Linked DNA regions of Homo sapiens: regions 1, 3, 4 and 5 are each linked to region 2. Evidence: promoter capture Hi-C in 16 types of primary human blood cells and fetal thymus (Javierre and others, 2016). All regions are on one chromosome and are shown on one strand. The core of a region is centred on a gene start or on the middle of the fragment in contact, and the rest is flanking DNA. Distances in the headings are between cores, read along the strand shown. Region 1 overlaps MYO1E (myosin IE). Region 2 holds the start of MYO1E (myosin IE). Region 3 overlaps FAM81A (family with sequence similarity 81 member A). Region 4 overlaps MYO1E (myosin IE). Region 5 overlaps FAM81A (family with sequence similarity 81 member A).

The links. Contacts are between HindIII fragments. The CHiCAGO score rates a contact against its expected background, and 5 or more counts as called.
Region 1: a contact is called between a fragment that was not itself captured here and the fragment with the promoter of MYO1E in region 2, in 5 of 17 cell types (total B cells, M2 macrophages, naive B cells and 2 more). The highest score is 10.4, in total B cells.
Region 3: a fragment that was not itself captured here is called in contact with the fragment with the promoter of MYO1E in region 2 in 5 of 17 cell types (total B cells, naive B cells, M2 macrophages and 2 more); the score reaches 10.0 in total B cells.
Region 4: a contact is called between a fragment that was not itself captured here and the fragment with the promoter of MYO1E in region 2, in 5 of 17 cell types (M2 macrophages, M1 macrophages, endothelial precursors and 2 more). The highest score is 7.6, in M2 macrophages.
Region 5: a fragment that was not itself captured here is called in contact with the fragment with the promoter of MYO1E in region 2 in 1 of 17 cell types (total B cells); the score reaches 5.6 in total B cells.

The regions. Positions count from the first base shown.
Region 1 is chr15:59,247,708-59,252,187 of GRCh38, reverse strand. All of the region lies in intron 4 of MYO1E (myosin IE), which reads left to right. Among named protein-coding and RNA genes, the nearest start is that of LDHAL6B, 43 kb to the right of the region's middle. The HindIII fragment of the contact is 9,944 bases long and covers 1-4,480 here.
Region 2 is chr15:59,369,931-59,374,439 of GRCh38, reverse strand. It overlaps MYO1E (myosin IE), which reads left to right and starts at 1,569. Exons shown (of 28, transcript NM_004998.4): 1 at 1,569-1,942. The coding sequence starts at 1,940. RefSeq lists enhancers at 1,281-1,785, 1,786-2,289 and a silencer at 2,305-2,624. The HindIII fragment of the contact is 5,897 bases long and covers 1,462-4,509 here.
Region 3 is chr15:59,473,529-59,478,364 of GRCh38, reverse strand. The region is part of intron 3 of FAM81A (family with sequence similarity 81 member A); the gene reads right to left. Among named protein-coding and RNA genes, the nearest start is that of FAM81A, 38 kb to the right of the region's middle. The HindIII fragment of the contact is 6,137 bases long and covers 467-4,836 here.
Region 4 is chr15:59,264,445-59,269,224 of GRCh38, reverse strand. All of the region lies in intron 2 of MYO1E (myosin IE), which reads left to right. Among named protein-coding and RNA genes, the nearest start is that of LDHAL6B, 60 kb to the right of the region's middle. The HindIII fragment of the contact is 947 bases long and covers 1,754-2,700 here.
Region 5 is chr15:59,453,818-59,458,540 of GRCh38, reverse strand. The region is part of intron 1 of FAM81A (family with sequence similarity 81 member A); the gene reads right to left. Among named protein-coding and RNA genes, the nearest start is that of FAM81A, 18 kb to the right of the region's middle. The HindIII fragment of the contact is 5,091 bases long and covers 295-4,723 here.

The DNA of each region.
Region 1 (4,480 bases), core at 88-2,587, 120 kb after region 2:
AGGGAATATGAGCTTTTTAAGAGAAAAATGAAGTTGAAAAATTAACTGTTTTCAATTAATTTTTAAGATTTCAGAGTTTTTATTTCTTTGATTTTAATTTTTGTATCCCATTTATCTTATGCTGAACAATCTTAGTTCCTGATTACATTAGCAATTATTTGCATTGCATTGTATGCGTTTTAGACAGATAGAATAAGTTTGTTAATGCTGTTAAAGTAACAATACCAATATTATTAGTAGCAATACTGAATTCATTTTAAAATTTCTTTTCTGGTTTTTGTCCAAATATCCAATATTTGCAGTCAAAATACTGGGTTTCATAAAAGTCACTTAAAATAATCCTTTTCTATGTCAACCTGACCTACAGTTGGGTTCATTTATTTCATTTACAATTTCAGTTGTTTTGCATTTTTAAATGTAATTTTGTTTTTATAATTATGCAAAACATTTACATGGTTCCCAAGTCAGTACTGCAAAACATGAGCACTGAAGCATTTCAAGGTAAATACATATCTGAAGTATTTGGAGGTAAATATAGACTTCATGACATTTTACCCCTAAATATTTCCACATGCATCTCTGAGAAATTGAAACATTTTCTTACTGATCCGAAGACCATTATCATAACTCAGTAATTAATAGTACATTTTCAACATCATCTAAAAACTTCAAACTTCTCTAATAGTCGCAAACGTCCTTTTCTGCTGGTTTATGCAAATCAAGTAACGCTGACTGCATTTGGTTATGAATCATAAATTTATTTTTATCCTACCACAATTGCCCTATTACTGCTGTTTTTTTTCATGACACTGACTTTTTGAAGAGACCAAAACTAGTTTTCCTACAGACATCATTTACATTTGTCTAATTGCTTCTTCCTGGTCTCACTATACTTATTCCTTCAGTTGGATTTTCTACAAGTTTAAGGTTATATCTAATGACTTGATCAGATGCAGGTGCAAGTTAAATTTTATGAGGAGGAACACCTGGGTCATGTTGAATTTGGTTGCTTAATAGGAAATGCTTCTGTTTGATACTAAGCGGAGGTCACCGACTACTAGAGAGGCAGGAGGTATTTTCCTAGCTGGAATTTAATGAGGGTCCAGGATGAGTTTTCTGATAGAGTCCTCTGCCCTTTCTCTTTCCTCACATTTTCCCTCTTCTGGGTGTGTGCCAAAACGAGTGGGATGGGAATGGTCTTCTTACATGAGCTTGCTAGTCTGGAGGCCCCCTCAGTCTTCTGCAGCCCACGTGTCTCCCTCCACCTGCACTGCAAGGTCCACCTGCACTGAAGCGGGATGATGCCCACTTCAGATCCTTGTTTCCAGCTGTTCAGGTGGCAGAGATTTCAAGGACCTGCTCCCAAGGATTTCTGTTGCAGTGGCTGTGTTTTCATTTAGGAGATGTGCTTTAATTTAGGAGCTACCTGGAGTTGGGCCAAACTCCAGGTTAAGGACACAGGCCTCCTCGGTAGACTGCCCACCCTGCAGACATCAGCTGCATGTTCAGGGCTCCCCAGGCCACCCTCATCAATTCAGGGGTTCCCACTACCCCCCGCCCCCGCCAGGTTCAGTAGTTCACTAGAACAACTCACAAAACTCAGAAAAGCCCTACACTTAGGATTACAGTTTCGTTCTGGCAAAAGGAGGATACAAATTAAAGCCAAACAAAAGAGGTTGAGGGCGAGGTCTGGGAGGGTCCCGAGGTGGAGTTTCTGGTTTTCCTCTCCCTGTGGAGTCATGGACAGCGCTACCTCCTACCGGTATGAGGTGTGACAATACTCACAGTATTGCCGACCAGAAAACATCACCTGAGCCTCTGATGTTTGGCCTCGATCACGCACCGCCTGCCTGGCCCACCTTCAGTTTCCAGCTGCTCTCGAAGGCTTGTGCAAATGCCTTTAGTTTCCAGTTGGAGGTCAGAATTGCGATGGTATGTCCCAAAGCCCCCGACATAAATCATATCGTCAGACTCTCCTATGGTCAAAGCCCCCAAGAAAGGAAAAGCACTCCTCTTAGGTAGGACATTCCAGGGGCATAGACATCACCGCCCAGTCACCGAGGGCAAAAGCCTGAGCCCTTGAGTTAATTCTCTTCTGCACCAGGGCTGTGGTTTGTCTGCTTTGAGAAAGCAAATTGGAAACCTCTGGCATGCCGTGGTTCATGCTCACCTGACCCTGGGCAGCACGCCTCACACCTGTCTGGGCCTTGGCTTTTTCACCTGTGAAGGAACTGGTTTTGGAACTCTTCCTTCCAAATAATGTTGGAGAGGAGGAAAGGCAGGGAAATCCTGTTCTGGGTGGAAAGGCCAAGTTTGTAGCCCCTGACACTGGATGGGGCAGGTGCTCCATCTGTTAGGGGCCGAGTTGAATGGTGCCTTTTAAAATGTGTTTGTGAGCAGAAAACAAACGAAAAAACCATTTTCTTGGAGGCTGGAAGAGAAGCCTGCTCCTCATGCTAAGGGATTCTGGCATGGCTGGAAAGACTAGGAATCTTTAGTGTCATTTAATTAGGAAATAAAAAGTGAGCGATGACCTAATTTCTATGGTGGTGTTTTAGACTTCCACCTCCCAGTTTCCCTGGTGTGACTTTGTCTAAATGACACTTTAGATGGCATAATGCAGCCCATAAAGGCGGCGTTTCTAGTTTCCTGTCAGTCTTACTCATATTTTCCAACGCAGTGGATACGGTGACAGGATGGACAGGCACCTGACCATTTCAAGACTAGAAATGAGTGTAACAAATCGGATTTTTTTTTTTTTTTTGAGACAGAGTCTTGCTCTGTCACCAGGCTGGAGTGCAATGGCGTGATCTCAGCTCACTGCAACCTCTGCCTCCCAGGTACAAGTGATTTTCTTGCCTCAGCCTTCTGAGTAGCTGGGACTACAGGCACCTGCCACCACACCCAGCTAATTTTTTTTGTATTTTTAGTAGAGACTGGGTTTCACCATGTTGGCCAGGGTGGTCTTGATCTCTTGATCTCGTGATCCACCCGCCTCAGCCTCCCAAAGTGCTGGGATTACAGGCGTGAGCCACCGCGCCTGGCCACAAAGTGGATTTTGAAAGAAATAAATCAAGGAAGGAGACGTGCTGCTTTCTCAAGCACAGGGCTCCATGGAAGCCTAGGTCCATCTACAAACTTGATTTGTCAAAACAGCTGGAGTTGAGCAGCCTTGGGTAGACTGACTTGCCAAGCAAACTCACAAGGAAGTGTGAATCAGACCCCAATTCATTATTGCATAGGCAGAATTCTGCCTGTGGACAGCCGATTATGTGCCCTGGAACACAGTCCACGAAGGGAGCTAGATTACCACGAGAACGCTGGATAGAGGGGTGAATTCTGAGCGAAGGGATGATCGTATTTGCTAAATCAGCTCACAGCAGTCACCTCTATCTGAAGATGTGAACACATGAACTAAGGGTGTTGCTCTAGTCTGCAGAACAGTCTTTTTACTTGGAGAAAACCCCCCATCTCTGCTGTTTACTTTCCTGTCCTGACTCTGCTGTAAGTCAACCCCCTTTCATTAACCTACACTCTCTCCTGCCAAGCCCTGATGTCTATTAGGCCAACTTCTAGTAAGGAATAAACACCTGGGGTTGACCTTGGATATTTCCTATGCCTTCCTCCTCAGCCCACTGGCAGACAAATCAGGAAGAGTGGCTTCTATGGATGCTAACTTTTTTTTTTTTTTTTTTTTTTTTGAGATGGAGTCTCACCCTGTCGTTCAGGCTGGAGTTCAGTGGTGTGATCTCGGCTCACTGCAACCTCCATCCCCCCGGGTTCAAGCGATTCTCCTGCCTCAGCATCCCAAGTAGCTGGGACTACAGGCGCCCACCACCTTGCCTGGCTAATTTTTTTGTATTTTTAGTAGAGACAGGGTTTCACCATGTTGGCCAGGCTGGTTATGAGCTCCAGACCTCAAGTGATCCACCTGCCTTGGCCGCCCAAAATGCTAGGATTACAGTTATGAGCCACCGCACCCGGCCTATAGATGCTAATTTTATCTACCATGCCTTGTGTTCACTAATTTATCTTTTTTTTTTTTTTTTTTTTTTTTTTTGAGACGGAGTCTCATTCTGTCACCCAAGCTGGAGTGCAGTGGCACACTCTTGGCTCACCACAACCTGTGCTTCCTGGGTTCAAGTGATTCTCTTGCCTCAGCCTTCTGAGTAGCTGGGATTACAGGGGTGTGCCATGACACCTGGCTAATTTTTTGTTTGTATTTTTTAGTATAGAAGGGGTTTCGCCCTGTTGGCCAGGCTGGTCTTGAACCCCTGACCTCAAGTGATCTGCCTGCCTCAGCCTCCCAAAGTGCTCTGATTATAGGCGTGAGCTGCCATGGCTGGCCTAGGTTCACCAATTTAACTTTCTAGGGATAAGTATTTCTGATTCCTGAATTGCCTTACTAGTTCAGTGGCTCTACAGATATGTAGGCTCCACCTCCAGAGATTCTGTTTCAACTGATTTGTGGTGGCCTTGG
Region 2 (4,509 bases), core at 320-2,819:
GGAAAATGCATACCTGTTAGCAATTACTTCCATCTCCCCTCTCCCCCAGCCCCTAGCAAACCACTAACCTACTTTTTATCTCTATAGATTTCCCTATCCTCAACTTTCATTTAAATGGAATTATATAATATGTGGTCTTTTGCTCCTGGCTTAACACGATATTTTCGAGATTCATCCATGTTGTAACATTTTGTTTACCCTTTTAGACAAGATAAAGTTTAATACCCTTTCTAACTCTATGCTCAGATAGTCAAGTGAAGAGCTACAACCAAATTTCTTTTTCCTTTCTTCCTTTCTTCTCTCTCTCTCTCTTTCTTTCTTTCCTTCTTTTTTTTTTTGACAGAATCTTGCTCTGTCGCCCAGGCTGGAGTAGAGTGGAACGATCCCGGCTCCCTGCGACCTCCGCCTCCCCTGTTTAAACGATTCTCGTGCCTCAGCCTCCCGAGTAGCTGAGATTACAGGCATGTATAACCATGCCGGGCTAATTTTTGTATTTTTAGTAGAGAAGGGGTTTCACCGTGTTGGTGGCCAGGCTGGTCTCAAACTCCTGACCTCACGTGATCCACCAACCTCAGCCTCCCAAAGTGCTGGGATTGTAGGCGTGAGCCACAGCGCCCTGCCTCAACCAAATTTCAGAAAGTATCATAATATCATTATGCTTCATAGTTTCTCTATGCCCTGAAGTTTACCAATTTTATCTTCTACAGATTCCAGGAAGGCAGCCTGTTAAGACTCACCAAATTTACTTCCTCAGCCTCCAGAACAATAAAATCAAACTCCCTACCTTGATTTTAAGATTCTGCTTCCCCCCACCCCGCCCCACCCCAATCTTCTCCTTGGATATTCGACAGTCTGGAATAATGCATTTTTACAGTTCTGATTGTTTTCAGCAGATGTGTTGGCTGAGGTTGGATGGGGTTTCTTCCCACCTATCTCTCCTCTCTCCTTCCCTCTGCCCACTGCACGTGCAACAACTTTTCTGCCATCAAAACGTGCAAAAAAGAAACAAGAAAGAAAGGAAAGAGAAAGAAAAGAAAAACAGAAAAAAGAAAAGAAAAAGCAGCCGGAAGTCTTCCTTTGTTTTCCAAGGAAATTCAGGTAAAAGGAGGGGTGGGGAAATGATATTTTTGACTTTGCTCACAATCCAGACGTAGGAAAGAAAAAGGATTTCCTTTGGGCTGCTGCCACGACTCTGATGTTTTATGCTGATAAAATATTTCCTTCTTAAAAAAAAGTTCTGGGAAAATCATGCCCCTTCAACTTGGAAGCGAAACCCACCCTAACTTTCGTCTTAAAACGCAGCGAAGTGAAAGGTTTGCTCCTCTTTCACGAGGGTTTTGTTCCTTACAGTTCGGGTCTTGCTACCAGGAGCGAGCTGGGTCCGCAGCGTTCTTCGGTGGCTGGCGCGGGAGGAGGACTACAGGATCCAGAGATCTTTGGAAACTCCAGCAGCTCCAAGCTTGTTGGCTACTACGGTTTCCCTGAGGAGTGACGCTACGAAAACAAACCCTGATTGGTCAGGCCTGAGCTGAGTTCTCCATTTATGGACAGATTGCCCGGCCCGAGCCGAGACTCAGCCAGAGGAGTACGGATTAAGTGGCCGAAGAAAGAGGAGTGAGGCAGGGGAGCGAGGCGGACGCTCCGAGCGCATCGGACTCACCTGGGCCGGCGGCGACCGGCGAGTACGAGTGGACTCTTGCCCTCCGCAGCATGCGCCCCGCCTGCTAAGTCGCCGCCGTCTCGCCCTCACCTAGCACCGCCAATCCCGCCTGGATGGAGTCCCCTCTGGGTTCCCATTGGCTCCTGTGAGTGCTTGGGTGTCGGGAGCCTGTTTTTGGCGAGGGGAACCAACTTTTGAAGTTCGCCCAGAAGACTGCGTTCCAGCCCCAGTTCCCCGGCAGCGGGACCCGGCGAAGACGCGACCGCGGCGCGAGTCACCATGGTGAGTTGGCCGCGCCGCGTCCTAGGACGCCGGACCCGGGGACGGGGCAGGAAACCCCGGCGTGGTGCACCCACCTTGGGCGCGCTGCCGGGGCCAGGGGTGGAGAAGGTGGACGCGGGAGCCGGCACGTCGCGAGCTCTGATTTCCTGCCGCTTTCCGTAAACCCGGGCCGGGGGAGAGCGAGCGAGGGGCCAAGGAAAACTTTATTCCAAGTCGGTTTCTGCGTCGCGAAACTTTCTGTGGCCGGGTTGCTATGGCTGCCAGCTGTCGGAAGCCAGGGTGTGGGCGCATCGGCTGCGAGGGGCACGGCGCGGGAGGGGGTCCCCTCCTCCTGCTGGGACGTGGGGGGCGCAGCCGGCAGGGGAGGTGCTCGGAGACTCGCGCCGCAGCCGCTGGCGGCGTCCCCTGCCCTCCCCGCGGCCGTGCCCGCCCCGCCCCGGGCACCCTCGCGCCGACTCCCTCTCCTCCCCGCCGCCGCTCCGCTGCCCGGCAGCGCCCGCAGCTGTCCCGCCTGGCAGCGGCACGCGGGCGGGGGCGGTCCCTGGCCCGCCTTGGCGAGGGGCGGCGCGGGCCGCACAAAGGCAGGCGGGGGCGCCAGGTAGGGCGAGCACCTGGCGGCCGGCGGGCTGTCAAGAGCCAGGGAGACTCGGGCGCGGGCGGCAACCACGCCGCCCCGGACCTGTGCCGGGCGCCGGCCCCGAGGGTCTCCGCGCCCCGGACGCCAAGTAAACACCTCCTGAAGAGGACCCCACCCCTTCCCAAGCGCGAGGGGATCGGGGCTTTTCGGGGATCCAGGGGACGCTTCGCACGGGAAGACGCCCTCGCGAGTTTCGAGTTTGTTGCTGTTTTCCCTTTGGCACTTTGGGAATGTGTGGAAGGGGCCGCCTCTTTGACTTGTGACTTTTCTGCTATTCCAACTCCCCAGTCCAGCTACACTCCCCTCCCTCCCTGTATAACCTTAGCCACCTCCCTTGGGCTTTGGCGTGGTGTACTTTTCTTTGCGGGGCACGAAAGCAAGGACTCTATTTTGAAGAGATCGGCAGTTCATCAAAAAAAAAAAAATCTATTACAAGGCTTCATAGTTTCCACACTTGCTTCTTTTCAAGTAGTCCTGCTTAGGTGGATTATCTCGTCCTCTTCTGGTTTGCTGTTGTTTTCTAATGGCTGTGGAAGAGAAGCCAAGTCAAAATGATAACCAGCACAACACTAATTAAAAAATCGATATCCCGGTGAGCAGCCTGAGGGAAGTGCAGCAGAGGCCCATCGAAACCTGCACACAAAGCTCAGAAGCCCCCTTGCCCCGTGCTGTTTATTCCAAAGAATGATTACAAACAAACATCAACGAGAAACCTTTCAAGGCATCCTCGGCCAAAGCCTTTTCTTTTTACATAGTCCAAAATTAAGTCACTTTTGCCCCATCTAAGAGAACACTTTGTCTATACATTTCCTCTTCTAGTTTTAAGGTTTAAGAAGTCAGTCTACTCTACGTTACTTTTGGACCCCTTCCCTCACCCCAGCAGAGAACCATTCCCATTGGGCATGTGTTTGGGTGAAGCTACCTCACTGGGCACCTGGTCCCTTGAAGCAGTGTGATAGTCCTGGTACTTGAGAATTGCTGTAATCATTTTCCGTGGGTCAATATTTCTTAAAAAAATCAATGTGTTTATGTCAAGAACTTAAAGAATCTTACTGAATTTAAGTACTTGAGTGGTACCTTGAGGAAATTAACTTCCCCTCAGTTAAACTCATTTTTCATGCTGAATGGACTGAAATATACTCTAGGTTGCCTTTTCCGAAACCTGTGATACCATGCTTAATTCAGCCCCATTGCAGATGAAGTAGAGGGTTGGTCAAATGCATGCGAAGAAGGCATGCTGTAGGGAAGAGGTGGTTCTATCTGAGGACAGTGTGTGACTTCCCTATTGATGGGCTCCCTGCCATCAGCACAGATGGGCATGTTGTGTGCCCCCAGGCGACTATCTGTGCATCAGATATGGTTGCTGAAGTCACAATTCACTGATGGAAAAGTTGAAACAGCTGGCTGTCCTGAAACAGGAGATGTGCCATTGATAGATCTACTGGATCCAGAGTGATTTGGCCAAAGTTAATCATTTCTTTCCTGACTTGAAAAATTGTTCATTATGTATGTGAAGTTGCCTTAGAATAGAGCATCATCTTAAATAATCAGAAACCCAAGTTACAATATTTAATGTTTATGTCAGACTCTGTCAAGCCAAATGATACTTCATTTTGTGTTCCACATCTGCCCAGGCCTGCCCAAGTTGTATCCCTTCAGCTGCTTAGAACAGGAAGGGAAAGGACATTACCTTCTTTGGGTGTGGCTGAAGATTAGCATGGAGGCTAAAATTCATCAGAAGGCCCTTGGCGGCCAGGCGCAGTGGCTCACGCCTGTAATCCCAGCACTTTGGGAGGCTGAGGCAGGAGGAATACTTGAGCCCAGGAGTTCAAGACCATCCTGGGTAACATAGTGAGACCCTGTTTCAGTTAAAAAATATTAAGAAGAAGAAGAAGAAAAAGAAGGCCCTTGGCTGGGCTATAGGGAGAAC
Region 3 (4,836 bases), core at 2,286-4,785, 100 kb before region 2:
TTATTAAACTAGCAAACTACGTATGATATATTCAATTAGATGAGGGCTTGATACAGTTTCCCATAACCCAACTAGGTTAAAGCCAACATTCCAAGCCAGAAGGACATCATGAAGTTGAGCACATGGGAACTAAAGTAGGTCCGCAGATTCTAACCAGCCAGGTGGCAGACCCCACTGCATGGTTCCCAAAGGCCAGAGACACAGCTAAAGCCATAAAAAGACATGGGGGTCCAAACTACTACCCCCAGCCATCAAACTGGCATGGAAAGGAAAGCTTACCACCAATAAAAGGACCACGGACTGCTCACCAGGGCTCGGCTTCCAGGGACCGATAACGGCTTAAACCAAAGACAGTATGGATAACCCAGACATGTATAATTCATAGTTGACTATATTACTTCCTCTAAATTTATAATGATGATGATCATTGGTGGAAAGTTTCTGAGGAATAAATAATTGATAAGCTTCTCCATATCACAAGGCAAACCGCTAACAGACACTGTGGATGGAGATGTATTAAAACAATAAATTCTTCCATTCAACATTTATCAAGCACTTACTGTGTATTAGTATACAAGAGTCATCTGTTTTGACACTGGTATCTGCTGAAAGAATATAAGCAATAATTATAGGGTTCTGGAAGGGGCAAGGAGACCCAGAGCTCTTGATTATGAAACATTTATTGAGCTCCTACTATGTCTTAGACATTGGTAGGTGTTGAAAATAGAAATATTAAGACTCTGTTCTAGCTCTTGAGGATCACATAGGGTAATGGTTTGAAAACATATTTTACTTTTTTTCCAGTGTATAACTGTTCAGAGTCACATGACAGAAAATCATAAAGACTTATCTAGGCAAATTTGCCAAGATACAGTGTTAATATATCTCGATTTGACTAGTTCTATCAGGGTCTAGCAGTAAGTTTCACATCTTAAGAATGGCTTCAGCTTTACTTTTGTAATATAAAATCACCTGCAGGGATGATTCTCAAAAATCAAATAACCCAGTAAAATTTTACTGCGTGAACTGAAAAACAGCTATAAACCAGCAATAATAATAATAATAAAAACTCAGGCAATTTACAGAAGATATTCTTCAAGAATCTATAAATAAAAAATACACCTTTTACATCATTGAAATACAATTTAAATATCTTCACACCTCTGTTTTAAAACTGATACTACAAGTATGAGGTTATTTTGTTCTTTGTTTTGTTTTCTGTTTGTTTTTGCTTTTTTTTTTTTTGAGTCAGAGTCTCACTCTGTTGCCCAGGCTGGAGGGCAGTGGCACGATCTCGGCTGACTGTAACCTCCGCCTCCTGGGTTCAAGTGATTCTCCTGCCTCAGCCTCCCAAGTAGCTGGGGTTACAGGCACCTGCCACCACACCCAGCTAATTTTTGTATTTTTAGTAGAGATGGGGTTTCACCATGTTGGCCAGGCTGGTCTTGAACTCCTGATCTCATGATCTGCCCACCTTGGTCTCCCAAAGTGCTGGGATTACAGGTGTGAGCCACCACGCCCGGCCAAGTATCAGTTTTATATTATGCCCACTCTCCCAATTTATTTATTTATTTAGAGATGGAGTCTTGCTCTGTCAGCCAGGCTGGAGTGCAGTGGCATGATCCTGGCTCACTGCAACCTCCACCTCCCAGGTTCAAACAATTCTCCTTCCTCAGCCTCCCAAGTAGCTGGGATTACAGGCACATGCCATCAGGCCCAGCTAATTTTTATATATATTTTTAGGAGAGATGGGGTTTCATCATGTTGGCCAGGCTGGTCTCGAACTCCTGACCTCAAGTGATCCACCCACCTTGTGGATCCCACACCCAAAGTGATGGGATTACAGGCGTGAGCCACCGTGCCTGGTGCCAATTTTTATATTACTTATAAATGAAGACTTCCTTTTAGTACTTTTTAAATTTACTCTACATCATTGTTACGGACTGAATGTTTGTGTCCTCCAAAAATTCATATGTTCACCAAGCGTGGTGGCTCATGCCTGTAATCCCAGCACTTCGGAAGACCAAGGCAGGAGGATTACTTGAGCCCAGGAGGTTGAGGCTGCAGTGAGCCATGATCATACCACTGCATTCCAGCCTGAATGACAGAGCAAGACCCAGTCTAAAAAAAAAAAAAAAATTGTAGGTTAAACTCCTAACCCTTGATGTGATGGTATTAGGAGGTGGGGCCTATAAGAGGTGATTAGGTCATGAGGGTAGAATCTTCACGAATGGGATTAGTACCTTAAAAGAAGGTCTTGCTTCTGCTCTCTACTTTCTGCCATGCAAGGATACGAAAAGACGACCATCTACAATTCAGGCAGCAGGGTCTCACCAGACACTGGATCTACCAGCATTTTGATCTTGGACTTCCCAGTCTCCAGAATCATGAAAAAGAAATTTCTGTTGTTTAAGCTACCCAGTCTATGGTAATTTGTCATAGCAGCCTAAACTAAGACAATCATGATTTCATTTTAATGAAGTTTGGCTATAAGACAGCAATTCTGATCTGTCATCAAGCATCCTAACATGTTTAGGTAGACATGCTTAAGTTCATAATACATATAAATCAATATAATTAGTGTTTCACATTGGAGTCTTAAATTTTTAAACTTCCTTGTTGTTACTTTGTCATTATATATAGTTACTACCAGTTACAAAAAAAGTAAACACTCAAATACAAACTAAATTTTTTGCCAAATTTAGATTTTACTCAGTTTTCCCTGTCTATCACGGAAATCATCACTTGCAAAATTGCACACTCCAAAAATACATGTAAATATAAAAGAGTGCTGTCTGGTTAAGGCAAGAATAACCATTACATAAAATGTGTTTCGGACGTTGGGAAAACAGCAAAATTGAAATTACTTTCTCACTGCATTGTAAATTTTTCAAAAATCATCTTAAAGAAACATGTTTAGGCCAGGCATGGTGGCTCATGCCTATAATTCCAGCACTTTGGGAGGCCATACATAACTGGTTGGTCACTTGAGGACAGGAGCTCAAGACCAGCCTGGCCAACATGGTGAAACCCTGTCTCTACAAAAATACAAAAATCAGCCGGGTGTGGTGGTGTGCCTGAAATTCCAGCTACTTGGGAGGCTGAGGCATGAGAATCACTTGAACCTGGGAGGCGGAGGTTGCAGTGAGCTGAGATCACACGACTGCACTCCAGCCTGGGTGAGGGAGTGAGACCTTGTCTCAAAAAAAAAAAAGGTTTTGGAAAAAATAATTATCAAAAGCCTAAACAATTGATGACTTCAGATTCCTTAGGCAGATTTTTTGATACAGCTGATTATTGAAGCAATTCAAGTGATCTCTCATCAAAGCAAGGATGGGTCAGGGGAGAACTCAGTGAGAACTAAAGCTAGAATTATCTAGTTTCATAAACAAGTTCTTCCTGAAACTCAGAAAGCAAAGAATGGCTGAATAGCACAGCCTGTCACATTTGAGAGTCGATTATAGAAGATCAGGTTCTAGAAGAGCTTCTAAGAGGTAAAGTAGAAAAGAGAAAAGAGCATATTTTTGGAGTTTTGCCACATGGGTTTATTCTCAGCACTGCCACTAACTGGCCTTGATACCTCAGGCCACTTCACTCAGCCTATCTGAAAAGGATGTTCTTTGCATTGATAACCTCATAGTCTCTTCTAGTCCTTTTTGCTACCAGCATATCTACAACTGGCTTCACTCTGTATTGGGCATTTATTCACTTAATAAGTATTTGCTGAGGTTTGAATGATGGCACCCCCTCCAAAAATTATGTTGAACTTAATCCCCATTGTGGTGGTATTAAGAGGCGTGGTATTTCAGGAGGTGATTAAGTCATGAGGGCTCCACCCTGAATGGACTGGGGCCCTTATAAAAAGGGTTTATGGGAGGAGGTCCACTCTGTTCAATCCTTTTGCAATGTGAGGACACAGGATTCATCATTCTTGCCCTTCCACCTTCTGCCATGTAAGCATGCAGCAAGAAGACCCTCACCAGATGCCAAATGCCAGTGCCTTGGGCTTGGACTTCCCAGCCTCCAGAACTGTGAGAAATAAATTTCTGTTCTTTATAAATTACCCAATCTCAGGTATTTTGTTATAGCAACACAAATATACTATGACAGCATTCACCGCATTTTGCTCCAAATATTGTACTAGACAATGCAAAGATGAGGAAGACAAGGTTCCTCTCTTTTTGAGAGGCTTGTAAAGTAACAATGTTAGTCCTATTCAATAAATGCTATAGTAAGAGTGGCACGAGTTCAGTGTCCAGGATACACTGAGGGAAAGGAAACTGGGGGCATGAGAGGAACTGGCAAGGAGGGCTTCCTAAAATGAAGGAACTGTTAAATAGCATCAGTGGCCCAGCTGAAGTTGGAAATTATGTATTTAAAATGGTTCTGGCTGGGCACTGTAGCTTATGCCTGTAATCCCAACACTTTGGGAGGCCAAGGTGAGAGGACTGCTTGGGCCCAGGAGTTCAAGACCAGCCTGGGCAACATAGCAAGACCTTGTCTCTAAAAAAATAAAATAAAATAAAGTGGTTCTGGCCACTGGAGTAGTACGTGGCAGCTACCAAATAGGAAATTATTCCCTGGATCCGACAGTTGCAGCTAAAACACTATCACCTCTTACGTTGACAGAAAAAATTAAGACCAGGATTTCTTAAGGGTAGAGTTATACTGTGCTTTTACCTGGAGGGGACGGTAATGTCAGAATAGACTGACTCCCATCTCTAGTCTTCCCCCACCCCCGTAAGCAAAGGGAACAGAGCTGAGTTCCCACAGGAAAGTGCTGGGTATTCTAAGAATGGGGAAGTAACAGTATTTTCTAATGTGAAACATGGGAAA
Region 4 (4,780 bases), core at 978-3,477, 110 kb after region 2:
GCAGCAAGTAAACAGTAAGTATGAGTCATTATTACCATGCAGGTGTGTAAGTGCTTCCCATATTTCCGAGTTATTTTCCAAAAATTCCACTGTAAACTTGTTTATTGGAAATTAAAATGCATTTTGCCACAGAAACCGTTATAAATGGAGTATTGACAAGCCCATAGAAGTCTTCATTTCCGCTGAATGTAGTAGTTGTACAAATTATATTTTGAAATGTTCTTGGAATGTGGGCTGGACTTACTGCATTATAAAGATGGAAATACGGTTTTTTGGTAAGCTGAGTATAAAAACAAACAAATGATGTCCGTAGTCAGTCCTTCATAACTCCAGGCGGCCTCACTCCTCCCAATCACGATTGTTTACTCCCAAAACACCAGAAGCAGGGACTATGTCTTATATATCTTCTTCAAAAAGCAGCATATAAAAACCCTTTAGAGCAATGTAGGTTCATTTAACATGGCTCATACCATGCAGTGAAGCAAAAAAAAAAAAAAAAAAAAATACCAAAGTCACCCAGAACCCATCACCAAAGGTTAGTTCTTATTAATCTCTTGGTGTAGAGCTTTCAGTTTAACCACATATGGCCATGCATATATGTGTGCTTTCTTGTTAATTTTAACAAAAATGGCATCATCCTGCCTCATGTATTTCTTGGTTTTCTGCATAATTTTTGGCATGGTGCATTGTATTAAGTATTCATTGACAATTTGTTGACTGTTAAGACTTGCTTTTTAAATTCAGACAACAGAATTTTTAAATGACTCACACAGAGAGGGCTGTTTATGCGCCTTTGAATTAATGCCTTTGAATCGATGACTGACTAATCGTGTGTTCTACCAAGGAAATGAGTTACTTGACCACTAATGACTTTATGTTTTAGAAATCTCTACCCACTGAATATATGGGAAGCCCAGCATAAATGTGCTTTCTATCATTAGCACAGAGTAGCTTTCAGCTTTGAGGGAGCTTGATGGATGTTTGTGAAATAATACAGGGGCTCTGCTGCAAGTCTTCCTCTGCTAAGTGGTAAAAGCATCCTTTAACACTTCAATGTTAAGGGAATATTATAATAGAATGGCATTACTGTAAGTAAGAGTTGGGTTTTTTCCTCTCCTATGTTTAATTGTTAAGACGAGAAGAGACTTGATTTCACATTGAGTTATAAAATTGCTCACTTTATCCCTTCTATATCTAATTCCTGCACATTGTCTTGTGTTGAAAGTCAGCATTTGGGGCGATCGATTGTTAATGCATTCAGGCTGAATGCACATTTCTTCTACATTAGGAAAAAAAAATCCACTTAGAAAATGCTGACATCGTTTACCAATAAAACTCCCTATTTTTGAGTTATTTGTCCTATGACAAGGTTTAATTTGCCATCTGTTTGTCATCAATGTTGCCACACTTTTTACAATTACATTGTAAGATCTATGAGGAAAACATTACAGTGTTGTCTATTGTGCATAGGGAGAGAGCACTTCTGACCACTTGGCCGACGAAAAGAGTTCCTGCGCAAAGCACTCTGTGCTCATTCGGTCCAACTTTCTCCAAACTTGTTTTTACTCAAAGACCACACTCAGGTGTGTTTGGCATTTTTAATCCTTGAATTAGGAGTCCAGATTTTCGTGCCAGACCCACTAGATTTCAAAGCAGCGTAGTTGTTCCGAGTGAGGTCTGGCCCTTGGCATCCAGTTCACTGGAGGGGCAGCATGCTATATAGCAAGACAGATGCCGGGCTGGAGCCAAAGCTTCGAGTTCCAGGCCACCCACTCTCCACGTGACTCTGGGGAAGTCAACTCACCTCCCTGTGCCACCTCAGGGATGAACCCAAGGAAGTCCACTCGACCAGCGTAGGTGGTTTTGGGAAATTCACTGACTATTCAAATAGATTTTAACCGGCTGGGCACAGTGGCTCATGCCTGTAATCCCAGCACTTTGGGAGGCTGAGGCAGGTGGATCATGAGGTCAGGAGATTGAGACCATCTTGGCCAACATGGTGAAAACCCCGTCTCTACTATAAATACAAAAATTAGCCGGGCGTAGTGGCGCATGCCTGTAGTCCCGGCTACTCGGGAGGCTGAGGCAGGAGAATTGCTTGAACCCGGGAGGCGGAGGTTGCAGTGAGCCGAGATTGCACCACTGCACTCCGGCCTGGTGACAGAGCAAGACTCCACCTCAAAAAAAAAAAAAAAAAAAAAAAAAGATTTTAAAAGTTCAACTCTTAGCATTGCCTAATAAGACTATTAAAAACAAACATTTGAGGCTGGGCACGGTGGCTCACGCCTGTAATCCTAGCACTTTGGGAGGCCAAGGCGGGCGGATCACAAGGTCAGGAGATCGAGATCATCCTGGCTAACAAGGTGAAACTCCGTCTCTACTAAAAATGTAAAAAATTAGCCGGGCGTGGTGGCGGGTGCCTGTAGTCCCAGCTACTCCGCAGGCTGAGGCAGGAGAATGGTGTGAACCTGGGAGGCGGAGCTTGCAATGAGCCAATATCACACCACTGCACTCCATCCGGGTGACAGACTGAGACTCCGTCTCAAAAAAAAAAAAAAAAAGAACAGCAAAACAAAAAACAAAATTTGAAAGTTGTACTGCCATCACATTTCATAAAAGAAAATATTTTTACACCAAAAACGTAGGAAGGACATAATCTAAGAATAAAGGACAGTTTCTTTATTTTGAATAAATTAAGCTTTATGAAAAATTCAGTGCATTGTTTGTTTTTTTGTCATTCTTGCTGCAGGTCAATGAAAACTGATAGATCCACGGGCAGGCATTTGGGAACCCATCAGTTAAAGATATCTTGGGTTTCTTCTGTCTCCCAGAGTCTTTTAAATAATTGGCATTTTTTTCCTTCTGTTTTTTGGTATCATAGCTTCATATCTTTATGCAGTTTGAAAATTAACCTTAGGCCACACCTTCACCACCAAGGATTATGTGGGTAAAGACAATGATCCGAACGGCTTTTCCCAGAGGCACACCTGAATTATGCAACAGGAGTGGGAGTGAGCATTGTTGGAATTACCTGGAGTTCCCAAAGCAGCAGGAGAGCACAGGTGTCCGGAAAATAGCTAAGGTCTCTGCAGACATAGCAAGGTGGAAAAGGTGAGAATTGTTTAGATAAACAATTATTCCAAACTCTCACCGGAAATAACTACGATATGTTTATTTTCTTTAAATCAATTAAATTCTCCTTAGTTTTTCTGTAGAAACAGCCATTTTATTTTTTGAGACTTTTTTTTAAATTTTTTATTTTATTTTATTTGCTCTGTCACCTAAGCTGGAGAGCAATGGTGTGATCACAGTTCGCTGCAGCCTTGCCTTCCCAGGCCTAAGTGATCCTCCCACCTCAGCCTCCCAAGTAGCTGGGACTACATGTGAAGACCACCATGCCTGGCAATTTTTTTTTTTTTTTTTTTTTTTTTTAAGGAGATGGGGTCTCAGTATATTGCCCAGGCTGGTCTCGAACTCCTGGACTCAAGCAATCATCCCACTTGTCCTCCCACAGTGTTGTGATTATAGCACCCAACCAGAAACAGCCATTTTAAACCAAACTTTATTTTTTAGGTGTCTTCCCAAATAGTATTATCCCCAAGAACCCTACTGATAAATTTAGGGAGCAGGTACAAATTTCCCTCTTCATTTCATTCTGACCTGAGTCATTGATTCACGATTGGCCTAGAATAGTCCAAAATAAATTTTTGTTTTTGTTTTTTTTCCTGAATATCTCCTTAACCAGGCCCTAATCAGAATTTATGTAATCTACTTGGTGAAAAATCAAGACTTAATGAGATATCTCTTTATATAGCAAATTAACAGTTTTTAAAATGTTGGTCACTTTAGGAGCTCATATGCAACTGAATTCATATTTATTGAGTAACCAAGGGATTGGTGGGGAGGTGGTACCTTTGTCTGTTGTCCTGAGGGCAGCCCTTTATTCTTTGTGTGCAGTGATCAATTTGTCTAGGACAAGGCGGCAGTAACCACATTCCCTTTACAACTAAGGGAACAAGTACCCTCCTCCATGGAAGGAGCTTATTTGCCTGTTTGTTTTTCCCTGGGGATAGATGTAGACATGAAATAAACATCTTCCTCTTCTGAAGTGAAGATGGTTCTAGCAGTGCTGTGTTTCTTTAAAATTGGGTTTACCATAAGAATCATTATTACTTCATTCATTAATTGTTTGTTTGTTTTCTTTTTTGGGAGCCAGGGTCTGGCTCTGTTGCCCAGGCTGGAGTGCAGTGGCATGATCATGGCTCACTGCAACCTCGACCTGCTTGGCTTAAGCAATCCTCCCACCTCAGCAGGAACTACAGGCACGTACCAACCAACATGCTTGGCTAATTTTAAAAAAATTTTTTGTAGAGATGAGGTCTCACTAGATTGCCCAGGCTGGTTTCGAACTCCTGAGCTCAAGGGGTCCACCCACCTTATTCTCCCGAAGTGCTAGGACTACAGGCTTGAGCCACCACAACCTGCTCGTTCATTCAATTTTGATTAGGTCCTTACCAATTAGAAAAGATACTTTAAAAATCCACCTAAGGGAATTAGGTTTTCGAGTATGCAAAGCATCAGAGAATCTAAGTTAGAAGAGGCTGCCAATTTAGGGTTGCCAGATAAAATTCAGGACTGCTGGTTAAGTTTGAATTTCAGATAAACAACAAGTTACTTTTTACTATAAGTATGTACCAAATATTACTGGGGAACATACTTATTTGGAACATACTTAAAAAAATTCTTGTTTGAATGACTTTCCAATTTAACTAGTTTTCTG
Region 5 (4,723 bases), core at 1,591-4,090, 83 kb before region 2:
AAATAAGCACTAAATTATTTAACAGTTTATATCTAGAACTTAACCTCAAAAGCTTATTATTAAGTTGCTAAGTGGATCATAAATTATGTTGAAACACTGATAAGTTATATTATTAAATGTTTTGTATCTTATACATGAAATAAACAGCATATGTTTCCAAATAAGAAGAAAAGCAATCAAGCAAAATCAAAGCTCTTCTGAAATTAATATTGCTAAGCCTTGCAAGACAGACCAACAGGGACTGTACAATGGAGTTTCCTGAAGTTTCCTCACTCCAAATCTGCATCTCAAGCTTGAGAAACCACTTTTAACAGAAACTAGAGTGTTTAATAGGCTTATCCAATCTTATACTTCTCTGTAGAATTTTGCAGGAAACTACCTCAGTAAATTTGATCTCAGAAAACTTTTACTACTAATTCCATGGTAAATGAAGAGCACTTATTTCTAAATTAATCTCAAATAAAACAGCACATGATCAATGTGATCTGATTTGTGGGAAGATATCTATCCACCAAGGGAGTGAGAAAGATATTCCTCATTAGAACTTGAAAACTTTATAATAAGATACAATCATTCATATTTCATCTTGCATATAAGGAACATTTGGTCCCCACAACTCATTAGAAATGTGAAAAACACTAGAGGATGTTTAAAATACTTTATTATTTAGGTTCCTCAATACTGCTATCAATTGCCTTAAAATAATGAATGCCTACTAACTATGATCTGATTCCATAATTAATTCTCATTTAGATGCTGGATTCAGAAAGCATTTCTGATTGAAATCACTGTTTTGGCGTCATCTCTCTAGTGTTTTATTTTTGGAGTTTCAAAATGTGCACATTTCATTTTCTTAGACAAAGAACTTTAAACAAATTACATTTAAGGAAAAAAAAGTCATTCATGCCAAACAAGCTATGGTGCCCAAAGAGTTCTTCAGTGTCAAAGAGAAGCATTTCTGCCATATAGACTACAGTAGCCCTCCCTCATCTGTCAGGGGTACATTCCAAGACCCCCAGTGGATGCCTGAAACCGAAGCCTATATATACTATTCTTTTCTACACATACATACTCATGATTAAGTTTAATTCATAAATTAGGCACAGTGCTCTTGCACTTTGGGGCTATTATGAAGTAAAATAAGGGTTACTTGGTCACAAGCACTGCAATACCCCAACAGTCAATCTGATAACAGAGATGGCTATTAAGTGACTCACAGGGCCAGGTATACATGGTGTGGATATGCTGGACAAGAGGATGATTCCCGTTCTGGGCAGGAGGGAGCAGGATCGCACAAGATTTCATCACACTATTTCAGAACAACACACAATTTAAAACTTATGAATTGTTTATTTCTAGAATTTTTTATTTAATATTTTTGACCATGGTTGACCTTGGATAATGTGGAAAGTGAAACCATCGATAAGGGGGGACTACCGTAAATAAAATCAGGCCAGTGTGGGAAATGCTGTTATTTAGAATCATAGAATCTTTACAGTTTTAAAGTTGTAAGACATCTCAGTTGAGATATTAATCTACAGAATAGCCTAACTTAAGAAACATGTATTTGGCATCTATTAGGTAATTAAGTAACCTAACTAGGAAAAACTAAAATCCCTTCCCTCAGCAGAAGTCATCTAAACCAACCAGAAAACAATGGGTTGTGGCTCATGCCTGTAATCCCAGCACTTTGGGAGGCCAAAGTTGGAGGATTGCTTGAGCCCAGGAGTTCAAGCCCAGAATTTCGAGGCCAGCTGGGCAACATGGCGAAATCCCATCTCTACAAAAAATACAAAAATTAGCCAGGCGTATTGATGCACACCTGTAGTCCAAGCTACTCTGGAGGCTACTCAGGAGGATCACCTGAGCCCAGGGAGGCTGAGGCTACAGTGAGCCATGATAGCGCCACTGCACTCCAGCCTGGGCAATAGAGGAGACTCTGTCTCAAATACAAACAAACAAAAACAATGGGTTAAGTGGCTAACCCTGTGAAAAAAAGCACATGGGGAGGGAAAACAGGAGAGGGGTCGATTTTTCCTGGGTAGCAGCTAGGTCAGGAAGAACTGATGAGAATGAGTAGGCTTTCCCAAAATAGGGGATGGAGAGATTGTTCCACAGCTTCTCTTCAACACTCCAACCTCTACTTCCTTTCTTCTGAACATGCTCTGGCCTGCCTAACCTGTTCTTCCGCCCTCATATTTGGCCACTCCCTACCACAATCACCTGCTCCAGTCACCGGGAACCCCCGCCCCCGCCACCCCATCCACCACCGTCCTTGGATATGTCCTGCACACTCCTGCCATCACACCTCTGTGCGTGCGCTCTATGGGAAATGCCCTTCCCACCCCTGCCAGCCTAGAAAATTCATGCACTCTTTAAAGCCCCACTAGCCCCTCCAGTCTATAAAGTGGCTCTCTCTCTTGCATTTCTCCAGCTCTTTATCTGTTTGTATACTATTTATTGTGCTCTATTCTTTTTAGTTGTTTAATAGTCTAGCTCCCCTACTAAATGACACGCTCCTTACAGGCATGTTTCAAATCTTAATAAACACAGGGCTGACCTAGAAGTATCCATATATGTTTGTTAATGAATGAGTGAATGCCCAGCACTTCCAGATCAGAAACTGCAGCAATAAAGATATAAGACAATATACTTTAGTTAAAAAGTATAATTATTTACCAAGACTGAATCCCAAATATTAGACACTCAATAAGTATCTGAAAGAATGGGGACTTTGGCATCCCCTTCTCTGAAGGCCATTTCATCTACCTGAACAGAGCCACAAAAGTCAAGCCACACCACTGATTATCGGAGATGGCTTTTCAGAAGCAAACCCTCCTAAGCGCTATGCAGCTCTATGACAAGAAATTTCATAAGGCATGAGCTCACAAGACACATTATTCAGAATGGGTGCCCTTTATGAATGTGGTGAGGATCTGCATATCTGGCAGGTCGCTTGGTTTGTTAGCATCACGATTCTTTGCCAGAACGTGGAATCTATATTGCAGATGAATAAAGATTGATAATGAATAAGTCACAGGATTAAATAACATCTCAAGCATTGTTTCCAGATCTTCCCGTTGTTAATTCTGGCTTACCTGCCTGAGGTTATCATCTCCTGTACGTTTATAAATCTGATCACTGATACCACAGGTCTGTCTACAACCTTATCACACAGGTCTGGGTTTCATGCTGTTTTGATTGTGCAGTGATTCCACTATATTAAACAATATATTAAACAATCTCCACTTTATAAAGTTTTAAAATTGGGGGAAGTTGGGGGAAGGGACAGGTAGGTAAAGCAAGAAGAAAAGAATGGAAAGAAGTAAGAAAAAATAAACTCTGGGGCCAGGCACTGTGGCCTGTAATCTCAGCACTTTGGGAGGTTGAGGTAAGTGGATGGCTTGAGCTCAGGAGTTTGAGACCAGCCTGGGCAATATGGTGAAATGCCATCTCTACAAAAAAAAAAAAAAAAGTTAGCCAGGTGTGGTGGCACACACCTGTAGTCTCAGCAACCTGGGAGGCTAAGGTGAGCCCAGGAGTTTGGGACCAGCCTGGGCAACATGGCAAAACCCCATCTCTACAAAAAATACAAACAAAAAAAAATTAGCCAGGTGTGGAGGCACACACCTGTAGTCCTACCTGGGAGGCTAAGGTGGGAGGATTTCTTGAGCCTAGGAGTTTGAGACCAGCCTGGGCAACAAAGCAAAACCCCGTCTCTACAAAAAGTAAAAAAAAATAAAAAAAATTAGCTGGGCATGGTGGCATGCATCTGTAGTCCCAGCTACCCGGGAGGCTAAGGTGGGAAAATCACCTGAGCCTGGGAGGTCAAGGCTGCAGTGAGCCATGACTGCACCACTGCACTCTAGCCTGGGTGACAGAGTAAGACCCTGTCTCAAAAAAAGAAAAAAGAAAAATAATCCAAATGCCCAAAATATGCAATATATAAATAGAATTCAGAAGTTCACAGAAGAGTAAAGTGAAATGCTATTATCTAAATCAAAATGATTATTTGTGATTATGAGGATTCTGTGAAGGGAGAAACAAAAAAGGAAGTAGATATACATAGAGATGAATATTTTAAAATTTTAATGAAAAAGAAGACATTAATGCCAACCAATTATTATAGTTTTATAAGTGATGTGACACTGAGTAGAAAAACCTGCCATACCATTTTAATGTAAAATGGTAAATGAATTTAATAAATTAAAATGATAATTTTTACTAAAGAGTTGAATACCAATCATGTAAAAACAGTTAATTTTTCATTTCACTATTAAAATATAGGATTGATACATTATGCCCAACCATCAGAATAAAAAATAGGCAAAGCATTTATGAATAAAGTGGTTGTAATATGATGGTAAAACAAAAAACCCTATTTCCTTATAGCTAAAAACAGAGTGAAAGGATAGAGGGCAGGAACAGTGGAAGGTTTGTCTGGAAAGACAGCTGGATGTTGTTCTCTAACTCACCTCCAACAGCACCCTCAGGCCTTTGGACTTGATCCCCAGGCCCTGAGGAGTGATAGGAAGTTGTGGGATGGCAGAAGGCAAGGGCCTCCCAGGCAGGCAGGAGTCAGAGGAGATGGGGAGTCACAGTGGTGCATGCAGGCCCAAGGCCCTGGTGACTAGACTGGGAATTCAGGCAGCCCAGAGATGGGATCTGGCTGGAGTAGCAGGAGAGGTATCGAGATTCACCTAGCACTTCTCATTCCTCTCTC